Regions from separate parts of the Homo sapiens genome. Here regions 1 and 3 are each linked to region 2. The links are contacts of gene promoters, found by promoter capture Hi-C in human tissues and cell types (Jung and others, 2019). All regions are on one chromosome and are shown on one strand. The core of a region is centred on a gene start or on the middle of the fragment in contact, and the rest is flanking DNA. Distances in the headings are between cores, read along the strand shown. Region 1 overlaps NT5M (5',3'-nucleotidase, mitochondrial). Region 2 holds the start of RASD1 (ras related dexamethasone induced 1). Region 3 overlaps SMCR2 (Smith-Magenis syndrome chromosome region, candidate 2).

Evidence for each region. The method cuts DNA at HindIII sites, captures the fragments that hold promoters and counts their contacts. A contact is called where the count stands out against the background at its distance.
Region 1: a fragment that was not itself captured here is called in contact with the fragment with the promoter of RASD1 in region 2 in 1 of the 25 tissues and cell types used here (spleen).
Region 3: a fragment that was not itself captured here is called in contact with the fragment with the promoter of RASD1 in region 2 in 1 of the 25 tissues and cell types used here (dorsolateral prefrontal cortex).

Annotation. Positions count from the first base shown.
Region 1 is chr17:17,332,083-17,336,128 of GRCh38, reverse strand. All of the region lies in intron 3 of NT5M (5',3'-nucleotidase, mitochondrial), which reads right to left. Among named protein-coding and RNA genes, the nearest start is that of NT5M, 31 kb to the right of the region's middle. The HindIII fragment of the contact is 5,316 bases long and covers 1-4,046 here.
Region 2 is chr17:17,494,870-17,498,600 of GRCh38, reverse strand. RASD1 (ras related dexamethasone induced 1) reads left to right here and starts at 2,206. Exons shown (of 2, transcript NM_016084.5): 1 at 2,206-2,705; 2 at 2,917-3,731. The coding sequence starts at 2,420. The coding sequence ends at 3,476. RefSeq lists silencers at 1,486-1,715, 1,766-1,895, 2,056-2,275. The HindIII fragment of the contact is 34,145 bases long and covers 1-3,731 here.
Region 3 is chr17:17,671,729-17,675,757 of GRCh38, reverse strand. SMCR2 (Smith-Magenis syndrome chromosome region, candidate 2) reads left to right here. Exons shown (of 4, transcript NR_131243.2): 3 at 236-392; 4 at 1,602-1,732. Among named protein-coding and RNA genes, the nearest start is that of SMCR2, 3.9 kb to the left of the region's middle. RefSeq lists an enhancer at 1-354. The HindIII fragment of the contact is 4,455 bases long and covers 1-3,964 here.

The DNA of each region.
Region 1 (4,046 bases), core at 1,114-3,613, 160 kb after region 2:
CAGGAGGCTGAGGCAGGAGAATGGTGTGAACCCAGGAGGCAGAGTTTGCAGTGAGCTAAGATCGCGCCACTGCACTCCAGCCTGGGTGACAGAGCGAGACTCCATCTCAAAAAAAAAAAAAAAAAAAAGAATGAATAAGACCTAGTATTTGCTAGCACAACAGGGTGACTATAATCAAAAATAATTTAATTGTTCATGGCCAGGCGTGGTGGCTCATGCCTGTAATCCCAGCACCTTGGGAGGCCAAGGCAGGTGGATTACTTGAGGTCAGGAGTTAGAGACCAGCTGGCCAACATGGCAAAACCCCGTCTCTACTAAAAATACAAAAATTAGCCGGACATGGTGGCACGTGCCTGTAGTTCCAGCTACTTGGGAGGCTGAGGCAAGAGAACTGCTTGAACCCAGGAGGCAGAGGTTGTAGTGAGCAGAGATCGCGCCACTGCACTCCAGCCTGAGTGACAGAGCAAGACTCCATCTCAAAAAAAAAAATTGTTCATTTTAAAACAACTAAGAATATAATTGGATTGTCTATAACACAAAGGATTGAATGTTTAAGGTGATAATGGATACCCCATCTGCCCTGATGTGTTTGTTACACATTGCATGCCTGTATCAAAACATCTAATGTACCTCATAAATACACACCTACTATGTACCCACAAAAATTAAAAATTAAAATTAAAAAACCACTTGTATTCCAAAAATTAGCTGGGCATGGTGGCGGGCGCCTATAGTCCCAGCTACTTGGGAGGTGGAGGCAGGAGAATGGCATGAACCCAGGAGGCGGAGCTTGCAGTGAGCCGAGATCATACCACTGCATTCCAGCCTGGGCAACAGAGCAAGACTCCATCTCAAAAAAAAAAATCACTTGTATTCTATATATTTGGAAATTTCAATTAAACAAAGTTTATAATAGCATTAAAAACGAAATAAGCTGAACTGTACACTTGATAAATTTTATCATGTGTATTTACCATTATAAAATATTTAAAAATATATTTATAAAGATAGTCTCTATGCCAAAAAAAAAAACATGAAATAGAGACAAATTTAACACAATATGTGCAAGAGTGGTACACTGAAAGCTACAAAACATTGCTGAGAGAAGGTAGAGGTGGCCTACATAAATGAGGATGTGTATGTGCTTGTGGATCAGAAGACCCAATATTGTTAAGCTTTATAGCTACAATGCACTTGCAATCAAATTCTCACCAGGTTCTTTGTAGAAACTGACCAGCTTGTTCTAAACATTCTATAGAAATATAAAGGACCCAGAATAGCCAAAACAATTTTTAAAATGAAGAATAATTTTGGAAAACTCACACTGCTTTCAAAAGTTACTATAAAACTACAGTGGCCAGGCACAGTGGCTCACGCCTGTAATCCCAGCACTTTGGGAGGCCAAAGTGGGCGGATCACAAGGTCAGGAGATCAAGACCATCCTGGCCAACATGGTGAAACCCCGTCTCAACTAAAAATACAAAAATTAGCTGGGTGTGGTGGCGCGTGCCTGTAATCCCAGCTACTCGGGAGGCTGAGGCACGAGAATCACTTGAACCCAGTAGGAGGTTGCAGTGAGCCGAGATCACACCACTGCACTCCAGCCTGGCGACAGAGCAAGACTCCATCTCAAAAAAAAAAAAAAAAAAACTACAGTAACTGAGACAGTGTGGTATTTACATTAGGTGGGACACTTAGATCAGAGAAGCAGGATACATTCCAGAAATGGACCCCAGGCTACCATGACACTTCAGTGAGAAAGGGTGGCCTTTCCAACAGAGGCACAACTGGATCCACATGCAAAAAAAAAAAAAACCTCTCCATTTTTACCTCCTACAATATATGATAATTAACTCAAAACGAGCCAGGCATGGTGGCTCACGCTTGTAATCCCAATACTTTGGGAGGCCAAGACAGGTGGATCACTTGACGTCAGGAGTTTGACACCAGCCTGGCCAACATGGTGAAACCCCATCTCTACTAAAATACAAAAACATACCAGGCACGGTGTCTCACACCTGTAATCCCAGCACTTTGGGAGGCCGAGGCGGGCGGATCATGAGGTCAGGAGATTGAGACCATCCTGGCTAACACGATGAAACCCCGTCTCTACTAAAAATACAAAAAATTAGCCAGGTGTGGTGGTGGGTGCCTGTAGTCCCAGCTACTCGGGAGGCTGAGGCAGGAGAATGGCATGAACCCGGGAGGTGGAGTTTGCAATGAGCCGAGATTGTGCCACTGCACTCCAGACTGGGTGACAGAGTGAGACTCCATCTCAAAAAAAAAAAAAAAAATACAAAAACATTAGCTGGGCATGGTGGTAGGTGCCTGTAATCCCAGCTACTAGGGAGGATGAGGCAGGTAGAATCGCTTGAACCTGGGAGGCGGAGGTTGCAGTGAGCCGAGATCACGCTGTTGTACTACAGCCAGGGAGACAAAGCAAAACTCCGTCTCAAAAAAACAAATGGATCATAACCTAAATAAAAAATCTAAAAGTATAAAACTTCTGCTCTTCTAAAGACTCTGTTGAGAAAACTCACCTGTAACCTCAGCACTTTGGGAGGCCAAGGCAGGAGGATTGCTTGAGTCCAGGGGTTCAAGACCAGCTTGGGCAACATAGCAAGACCCCATCTCTACAAAAAAAAAGTGTTTTAAAAATTAGCTTGGCATGGCGGCACACACCTATAGTCCCAACTACTCAGGAGGCTAAGGTGGGAGGATCACTTCAGCCCAGGGGGTCACAGCTGCAGTGAGGCGGGATCATGCCACTGTACTTCAGCTGGAGTGACAGCAAAACTCTGTCTCTCAAAAAAGAAAAAAAAGAAAAAGAAAATTAAAATACAAATCACAGACTGGGATAAAATATTTGTAAAACACATTATCTGATAAAGAACTTGTTTCTAGCATATCTAAAGAACTCTCACAACTCACAAACAACTCAATGAGAAACGAGGCAAAAGACTTGAACATTTCGTTACAGAAAATATACAAAGGGTTACTTGCTTAAAAACATGTCCAATGTCATTAATCAAGGAAATGCAAATCAAAACAACAATGAGACACCACTCCCTGCCTATGAGAACAGCCAAAATCCAGAGCCCTGACAATACCAAATGCTGACAAGGATAGGGAGCAAGAGGGACTCTCATTCACTGTGGATTTTTTTTAAGAGACTTTATTTTTTAGAGCAGGTTTAGGTTTACAGCAAAATTGAGCAGAGGTACAGAGTTCCCATATACCCTCCACTCCCACACAACGCACAGCCTCCCCGATTACCAATACCACAGAACGCAGGATACCGGGAGTGAACCCTGATGTAAACTATGGGCTCTGAGTGACCATGGTGCACTGACGTAGGTTCAACAGCTATAATAATGTGCACACTGGTGGGGGCATTGTGCCTTTAGCTCAGATTTGCCTGACAAGGGTCTGTTAGGTTTATCAGCAGCTGTTTGGAAGGAGAAGGGCTGCTCATCACCTGATTACCATTTTGGTTCCTGAAAGCTCTGGGGAGAAAATAGTTCAGCCCAGATGAATGTAAAGGTATCCAAGCATAAAGCGGTGCTGTCGTTCTAAACCAGAATCAGGAAAAATGCCTGCCATGGAACCTAAAACTACATGTAGCTAAAGAATTGCTGGCAGGACTCCCAGGGGAGGCGCTCTCTCCAAGACCTAGGAGTGCAGGCAGGAAGTCCATGAACCACCTCGAGAGCAAAGAGTTCAGTGATTACCAAGAAGACACAGAAGTAAAGGGGGATGCTGGCAGAGGACAGTGCTGGAAAAGATCAGAGGGGCAGATGGCTGGCAGCTCTCGACCCCACCTCCCTGCCCTTCCTGCTCCGCGTGGCTCACAGGCCCATGACCAAATGGACACATCAGAAATAAGAGATCTATGAGCTAGACACAGTCCCTAGCAGGCAAAATGTTGGAAGGGACAGAGTCCTGCTCCACTCAGATGAGCAGATCCCAAGACAGGTCTTAAATCAAGGAGGGTGGGGTATGCAGGTGTGGAGTTGGGTGAATGACACTGCTAGAAAAATAATACC
Region 2 (3,731 bases), core at 957-3,456:
GACAGGAGGCGCTCTGGGGCATTCAGAATGGGAATGGCAGGTGGGCCTGGGTCTTCACAACCCAGCATCCGTAGGGCAGACGGCCATGCACAGATGGTACCAGGAATCACTGTGGCTGAGGACACAGGCTAGATCAGTGCCTGCCAGTGTCATGTTCCTGATTTAAGGGGCCAGCCTGGACACTGACCAGGGGAGAGCTGGGCTGTGATCCTTGACCCTCGGGCCCTCCACTCATATCAAATGGACCCTCTTGGGACTAGAGCCCCAGGAGGCAATGGCTGTGTGGGGTCCACCTTCACTATAGCCCTGGCCATCAGTCATCCCAAGTTAGAGCCCGGCTGCCCATGCAGTGCCGCTGTGGGAGGCACAGGAAGGCGGTGCTCAGTCTGAAGGTGGTTCAGGTCCGTACCTTAACTGAGCCCCCCCATGTACCCTCAACTGGCTCCTTTATGCAGTGAACACCCTGCACCACTGCAGCCCTATATCCAGGGCTGCGACTCAGTTCCTTCTCCCCTTCTCCCAGACTCTGGCAGACATACCTCAGATGGGGGCAGGAACCAAGAATGGCGGGGCTCCAGCCCCAGCTAGCCTGTCGGATAACTGCTGCATAAGTGACACCAGGAATCAGAGCCAGGCCAGGGCCACTGATGAGCCCTTGGATGCTCACTGTGTGATGCGTGCATTTGAAATATCTGACAGTAAGAGTGAGGCCTGGGAGAGATGCAGGGACTCTGAGGATGGGGGCCAAGCTGGGCTGAGAAACAAGTTAGTGGTGTCCTGCAGCAGCCCCTACAGCAAGTGCCAGCGTGGGAGGGAGGTGGGTAGGCATGGGGTGGGTGGTATGGCACTCACAGCACTGCCTGCAGACCACCACCTGACAGCTGGGCCGGTGGTGCCAGCTAATGGCTCCCTAGTTTTCTCGTAAGTCAGACGTGGCCAAAGCAAAACACTGAGCACACAGGTTGCCTTGAGGAGCAGTGACTGCCTCAAGAGCTCAGGGCTGAGGAGCTGGCTCCAGACAGCCTGTTGCCAATGTTCAGCAACATCACCCCACTCCTGGTTACTGATCGACCTGGTGTGCTCTTGAGAGTACCCCCACCAGGCCTCATGGGTCAATACTACTGTTATTGTTGCTATTGTTATTACCAGGCCCCGCCCTCCTAAAGCATTTGCATATTTTCATCCTTAATCACAGAACCAGAATCAGTATCTTCCAGAAGAGAAAACTGAGGCCCAGGAGAAAGCAAGAGGCTGTGCTGTGCTCCCAGGGCCTTCCTGGCTCGCTGTGGCTTTGAGCTCCAGGTCTCTCAGCTAGACAATGAGAACGTCGGCCCACGCGCGGCACAGTAAAAGCCCAAAATGCTATGATGGACGGGGTGGGCCGCTGGCTGCAGAGCCCTCCATACCACAGAGCATCTCTGGCTGGGAGAAAGGAGCAGGCTGAGGCCTGCAGCAGAGCGCGGGGTTGGGGACCGCTCCTGTTGGGCCCCAGCAAGGCGCCCTGAGACCCCTGCTCCATCCCTGCCGCTCCCCACCCGCCTGCTCCTAGCCTCTGTTCTAGCTCTGCCCGCGGCGGCCACAGCCTCCCCGAGCCGCCGGCCGGGCCCTCTGCTGCCCTCTGGCGGCCCGAGCGCGCGGTGCCGAGCTCCGCGCCTGAGGCCCTGAAACCCCGCGTCCGCCCGGCGGTCGCCTCCCGGGAACAAGAGCCCGGCTGGGGACCGGAGCGGAAGGGGGCTGGGGCTGGGGCTGTGCTCTGAGGACTGCAATATACGGTCCGCGCAAGCACTCAGCAAACGCTGCTGCGCTTACTGGGTTACTTACTAGATTCCTATTCTCTGGGGAAACTGAGAACCAAAGAAAATAAGTGTACGCGCGCGGGAGGTGCAGGAATGGGGGTCCTTGCCCGAAGTCGCAGAGGGACAGGGGCACCGCCGGGACCAGAACCCCGACGCCCCTGCGGCCGCCGAGCCCGCGGCAGTGGAAAAGCGGAGTCCGAGCGCCTCCAGCCTCAGCCCGACCCTGGACTGCTCCCCCCAGCCCCCGCGCCCAGAGAGCAGGAGCCCGGCAGCGGGTGACGAGGTCGCCGGGACTGGGAGCCGGTGCGGGGGAGGCGGGCCCCGCGGGGCGTGACGCACCGAGCTGGGAGGGCCGGGGCGGGGCAGCCGAGCAGGCTGCATATAAGGGCGGCGGCCGGGCGCCAAAGCCAGAGCAAGCGGCCTGTGCCCAGATCCTGGGAGAACCCCAGCCGAGCCCAGCCTAGCCCGAGCCCAGCCCGAGCGGAGCCGGAGCCCCAAGCCCGAGCCGCGCCCAGCCCGAGCAGAGCCCTCCAGCCGCTCACCCCGCGTGCCACCCCAGCGACCCTCAGCCGCTCTCTGCCCTTCTCTCGGCCCCGCGCCCGCCCTCGCGGCCCCTCTGCCCAATGAAACTGGCCGCGATGATCAAGAAGATGTGCCCGAGCGACTCGGAGCTGAGTATCCCGGCCAAGAACTGCTATCGCATGGTCATCCTCGGCTCGTCCAAGGTGGGCAAGACGGCCATCGTGTCGCGCTTCCTCACCGGCCGCTTCGAGGACGCCTACACGCCTACCATCGAGGACTTCCACCGCAAGTTCTACTCCATCCGCGGCGAGGTCTACCAGCTCGACATCCTCGACACGTCCGGCAACCACCCGTTCCCCGCCATGCGGCGCCTCTCCATCCTCACAGGTGAGCCGGGGGCCGGGCAGGTGCGGGAGGGAAGGGCGGGGAACCCTCGGCCAGGGCGCCCCGCGAGCGCCGGTCCGGCTGCCGCGCGCCGAGTAGTGCGCTTCGCGCTTAGAGAGGCTAGCGCGCCCCGCGCGGCCTCAAAGTCAGCCCGACTTGTCCCCTGGGCGGCCACCCTCACCTTCTCCTTTTCTGCTCTCTGTGCCCCCTCTAGGAGACGTTTTCATCCTGGTGTTCAGTCTGGACAACCGCGACTCCTTCGAGGAGGTGCAGCGGCTCAGGCAGCAGATCCTCGACACCAAGTCTTGCCTCAAGAACAAAACCAAGGAGAACGTGGACGTGCCCCTGGTCATCTGCGGCAACAAGGGTGACCGCGACTTCTACCGCGAGGTGGACCAGCGCGAGATCGAGCAGCTGGTGGGCGACGACCCCCAGCGCTGCGCCTACTTCGAGATCTCGGCCAAGAAGAACAGCAGCCTGGACCAGATGTTCCGCGCGCTCTTCGCCATGGCCAAGCTGCCCAGCGAGATGAGCCCAGACCTGCACCGCAAGGTCTCGGTGCAGTACTGCGACGTGCTGCACAAGAAGGCGCTGCGGAACAAGAAGCTGCTGCGGGCCGGCAGCGGCGGCGGCGGCGGCGACCCGGGCGACGCCTTTGGCATCGTGGCACCCTTCGCGCGCCGGCCCAGCGTACACAGCGACCTCATGTACATCCGCGAGAAGGCCAGCGCCGGCAGCCAGGCCAAGGACAAGGAGCGCTGCGTCATCAGCTAGGAGCCCCGCCGCGCTGGCGACACAACCTAAGGAGGACCTTTTTGTTAAGTCAAATCCAACGGCCCGGTGCGCCCCAGGCCGGGAGCGCGCGCGGACTGGCGTCTCCCCTCCCGGCGATCCGCCCCCAGCACTGGGGAGGCGCCACTGAACCGAGAAGGGACGGTCATCTGCTCCGGAAGGAAAGAGAACGGGCCAAGACTGGGACTATTCCCCACCCCCGGTCCCCCATTGAGGCCCGCCACCCCCATAACTTTG
Region 3 (4,029 bases), core at 488-2,987, 180 kb before region 2:
CCAGCTCTGCCACCGTGCCACCAACAGCACGGCCTTGGGTACCTCCTCACCCTCTTTGAGACTCTGGTTTCTAACGAGGAGTGTAGCAATCCGTGCCTCCTGGGCTTATGACGATTTAAAACAGTTCAACATTGTAGAACTCTGGACCACCAACTGTTGCTGCTCCCCCTCACCCCATCAGCCTCCAGCACTTCTACAGAGAAGACAAATGTGAATGTGAACCTTTCTTTTGTAGGTCTTGTGAGTGCCCAGAGCCCTGTGGCAAGAAGCCTCTGCCAGGGAAAGGGATGCGGGGAAGTGGAGGCAGTGATGGGGAAGCAGAGCCAGGAGAGACCCTTGGGCTTCCTTCCTTCAAGGCCTCTGGTCTCTAGCAGAGAGAAGAGAGGGAGCAGGTGAGAGCCCCACTTAGCTCTAGGCAATATTTTTTTTTCAGACAGGATCCCACTCTGTCACCCAGGCTGGAGTGCAGTGGCACAATCATGACTCACTGCAGCCTCAACCTCCCAAGCTCAAGCAACGCTCCCATCTCAGCCTCCCAAGCTCAAGCACCGCTCCCATCTCAGCCTCCCAAGTTGCTTGGACTACAGGTGCACGCTATCACGCCCAGCTAATTTTTGTATTTTTTGTAGAGATGGGTTTTTGCCATGTTGTTCAGGCTGCTCTTGAACTCCTGAGTTAAGTGATCTGCCTTGCCTACCTTGGCCTCCCAAAGTGCTGGGATTACAGGCATGAGCCACTGCGTGCAGCCGAGCCAAACCTCATTCTAGATTCCATCTCCAGGAATAATGATGTGGGACCCACCACACAGCCCCCATAGTCTGGCAAGTGAGACAGACATTGAACCCACTCTAAAGAAGGGTCTCATTATCCCAAGAAAAAGACCACTTTGACCACAAGTCAAAGCTCTGGGAACCAACATTTCTTAGTAATTGGGAAAAAAATGTTTAATTGGAATTTTGTTTTGAAAAATGAAATTTAAACTATGAAAATATACACATTTTATCTTCCACAAACAACATTTAGGTTAATATGCTAATTCTTAGATTAATGTGCTAATACTTAGTGTTATGGTTTGACTGTCCCCTCCAAAACTTATGATGAAATTTATTTATTTATTTTATTTTTTTTTTTTTTAGATGGAGTTTTGTTCTTGTCACCCAGGCTGGAGTGCAATGGCATGATCTCGGCTAAGTGCAACTCCTGCCTCCTGGGTTCAAGCAATTCTCCTGCCTTAGCCTTTTGAGTAGCTGGGATTACAAGTGGCCACCCCTATACCCAGCTAATTTTTATATTTTTAGTAGAGACAAGGTTTCACCATTTTGGCCACGATGGTCTTGAACTCCTGACCTCAAGTGATCTGCCTTCTTTGGCCTCCCAAAGTGCTGGGATTACAGTGGTGAGCCATCATGCCCGGCTGATTTATGATGAAATTTAATTGCCATTGTGAAGGTATTAAGAGGTGGGACTATTAAGAAGTGATTAGGTCATAAGGGCAAAACCCTCATGAATGGATTAATCTCTTTATTGAAGGAGTGAGCTCATGATCAAGACACTGGATTTATTGTAAAAATGAGTTCAGCTCTCTCTTGCTCACTGTCTAGTGCTCTCTTGCCCTTCTGCCTTCCACCATGGGATGATACAGCATGAAGACCCCCACCAGATGCTGGTGCCATACTCTTGGACTTCCCAGTCTTCAGAAGCATGAGCCAAATAAATTTCTATTGTTTACAAATTACCCAGAGTGGTATTCTGTTTTAGCATCAGAAAATGGAGTAAGACAATTAGAGTACAAAAAGTTCATTGGAGTAGGCATAGTTCTTCCCACAAAATTGCCTGATGGTCCTTACTAGAACCTTCTGGGTCCTAACAACCAGAATGCTTCATCACATCCCCCTGAGTTCTTTGGGCCACTCTGAGTTCTATGACATTCAAATCATTTTCTTCCAAAGCACAGGTTCATCTTTCTTCACGTTGGGGGTTTTCATTATTTAGACAGGGCTGACCCAGCCAGATAGATAGATCCTTGGTTTGTCAGCCACTGTGTGCAGAACCCAGGAGCTCTCCAACGTAACTCTCATCAACTTCAAGAAATTCTACAACTTTGAAGTTTTCCTTTGCTACCAGCTTGCATAAGCAGACCTGACAGACAGAAGAGATGCAGATGGGGGGTGGACAGATGCTGGTGCTAGGTAGGGTGAGATGCTTGACTGGGAACGAAGTAAGTGGCCAGGACAGTACTAAATATATTCATGTTTTAACAACTCTTAACTTCCAACTCAGATAATGAATGCTCAGCTATGGGGCACCCTAATCATACAATTAACTGTATCAGCCCAAGATCTCTTGCATCTGGAGTTAGCGAGGGATAAAATTCCATCTTGTTTAAGCCGGTGTTATTGTGGATCTCTGTTATAAAGCCTCTGTCCTACCTAATACATCTAGTCTTTTGGTGGTAATTACAATCAATTTTCCTGTGGGCACCATTCTTTCCCACTTATGGCCCATGTGGTTCAGGCTGGGCGGTCCCTACCTCTAGGATGCAGAGATTGTCACGTGACTCAGGTTTGACCAAACTGCCCCATTTGCCTGGCCACAGGGATTGGTTCAGGAATGGTTCGAATGACCTAAGCCCTCCAGGAGTTTTGCTGGAAGCACTGAGCTTTGCTGGAGCCTCCAGGGGTAGTTGTTGAGACTGTGGGTCTGAAAACAGAGCCAATGGGGAAGAATGAGGAGTTGAGAGACATGGAGACACCTTCTGGGCACCTGGATTCAGCTGCGCCTGAAGCTCAGCAACCCCAGGACTTTAAGTCACTTGAGCCAATACATTCACCTTTTATCATAAACCAGTTTGAGCTGGTTTTCTGTCACTTGCCTGAAAAAGAACTGAGACTTTACACAGAGAAGAAAAATTTGGAATGGGGAGAAAAGGAGAATGAGCACTGTCTTCAAAGATCTAAAGGGCCGCCTGGGCTTTGTGTGATCACACACAGACTGTGTGGTTCCAGTGGGCAGAGGGACTGGACCAGGCTTCTGGCTCTTTATGAGGAACTTTCCCACAATTAGAGCTGTTCAAAGAGGGCCCCAGGCAATTTCAAGAGAGAGAGAGGAAGCTTCCCGTTTCTGGGGGTATGCAAACAGAGCCAGGATGTGGTGAAAGAAACTCAGGCTGACTAGGAGGACAGAGATCCTGTAATTTGTGAATGTGACTTAGTACCTCCAACCAGCTTTCATGTAGAGCCGGAGAATATCAGTCACACCCAATCTTTAATTATAAAATATTTAAGATATTCAAGAAGGTATGGAAGATAATTCACTGATCACTCCTGCATTCACCACTGTCAGCTCAAGAAATAAAACCACCAGGACAGCCGAGCTGCTGACCACAGACCCCTCCACCCTCCTGATCCCCCGCTGGTCATTAAGCTTTGACTACCCATGCACAGTCCTAAGGGATATGTACTTCAGAGGTCTTTTTTAAATAGAGGGGTTAGAATTGCCATGCTTTCAGGCCCTACAGATTTTTTGTTATTAAATAAAAGTGCTTAGCTACTAATAAAACATGTGTTTTCTTTCTTTTTTAATAATAGAAAAGTATGACAAGAGCAGTCCCTGAACAGTTTTTCATCTTGTTTATATGAAAGCCATTTCCTCACCTCCCCTCCCCACCCCCGCCACCCAGCCTCCCACACCTCGCTGTTCCCAGCTCTGGATTCCATCTCTGGGCTCTATTCCCTGCTGATAATCACAATTCCAGGATTGAGACTGAGATAAGGCGTATCAAGCACTTTGCACATTCCCTGGCATATAGTAAGCACTAATTTTAGCACTAGTTGTCATTATCACTGTCATTGCCATCTCGGGAATTGCTCCACCCCCATCCCTTCCCCTTGGCAGGAAGTTGCCAACCCTCCACTGCCTCTGCTCACCCACCTTCTTCAGGTTGTCCTGAAATTCCACTGATTTTACCCTTCACTACCTGCCAGACCACAATCTCTGCAACTGGTTTCCTTGCCTTCGGTCTCAAACCCC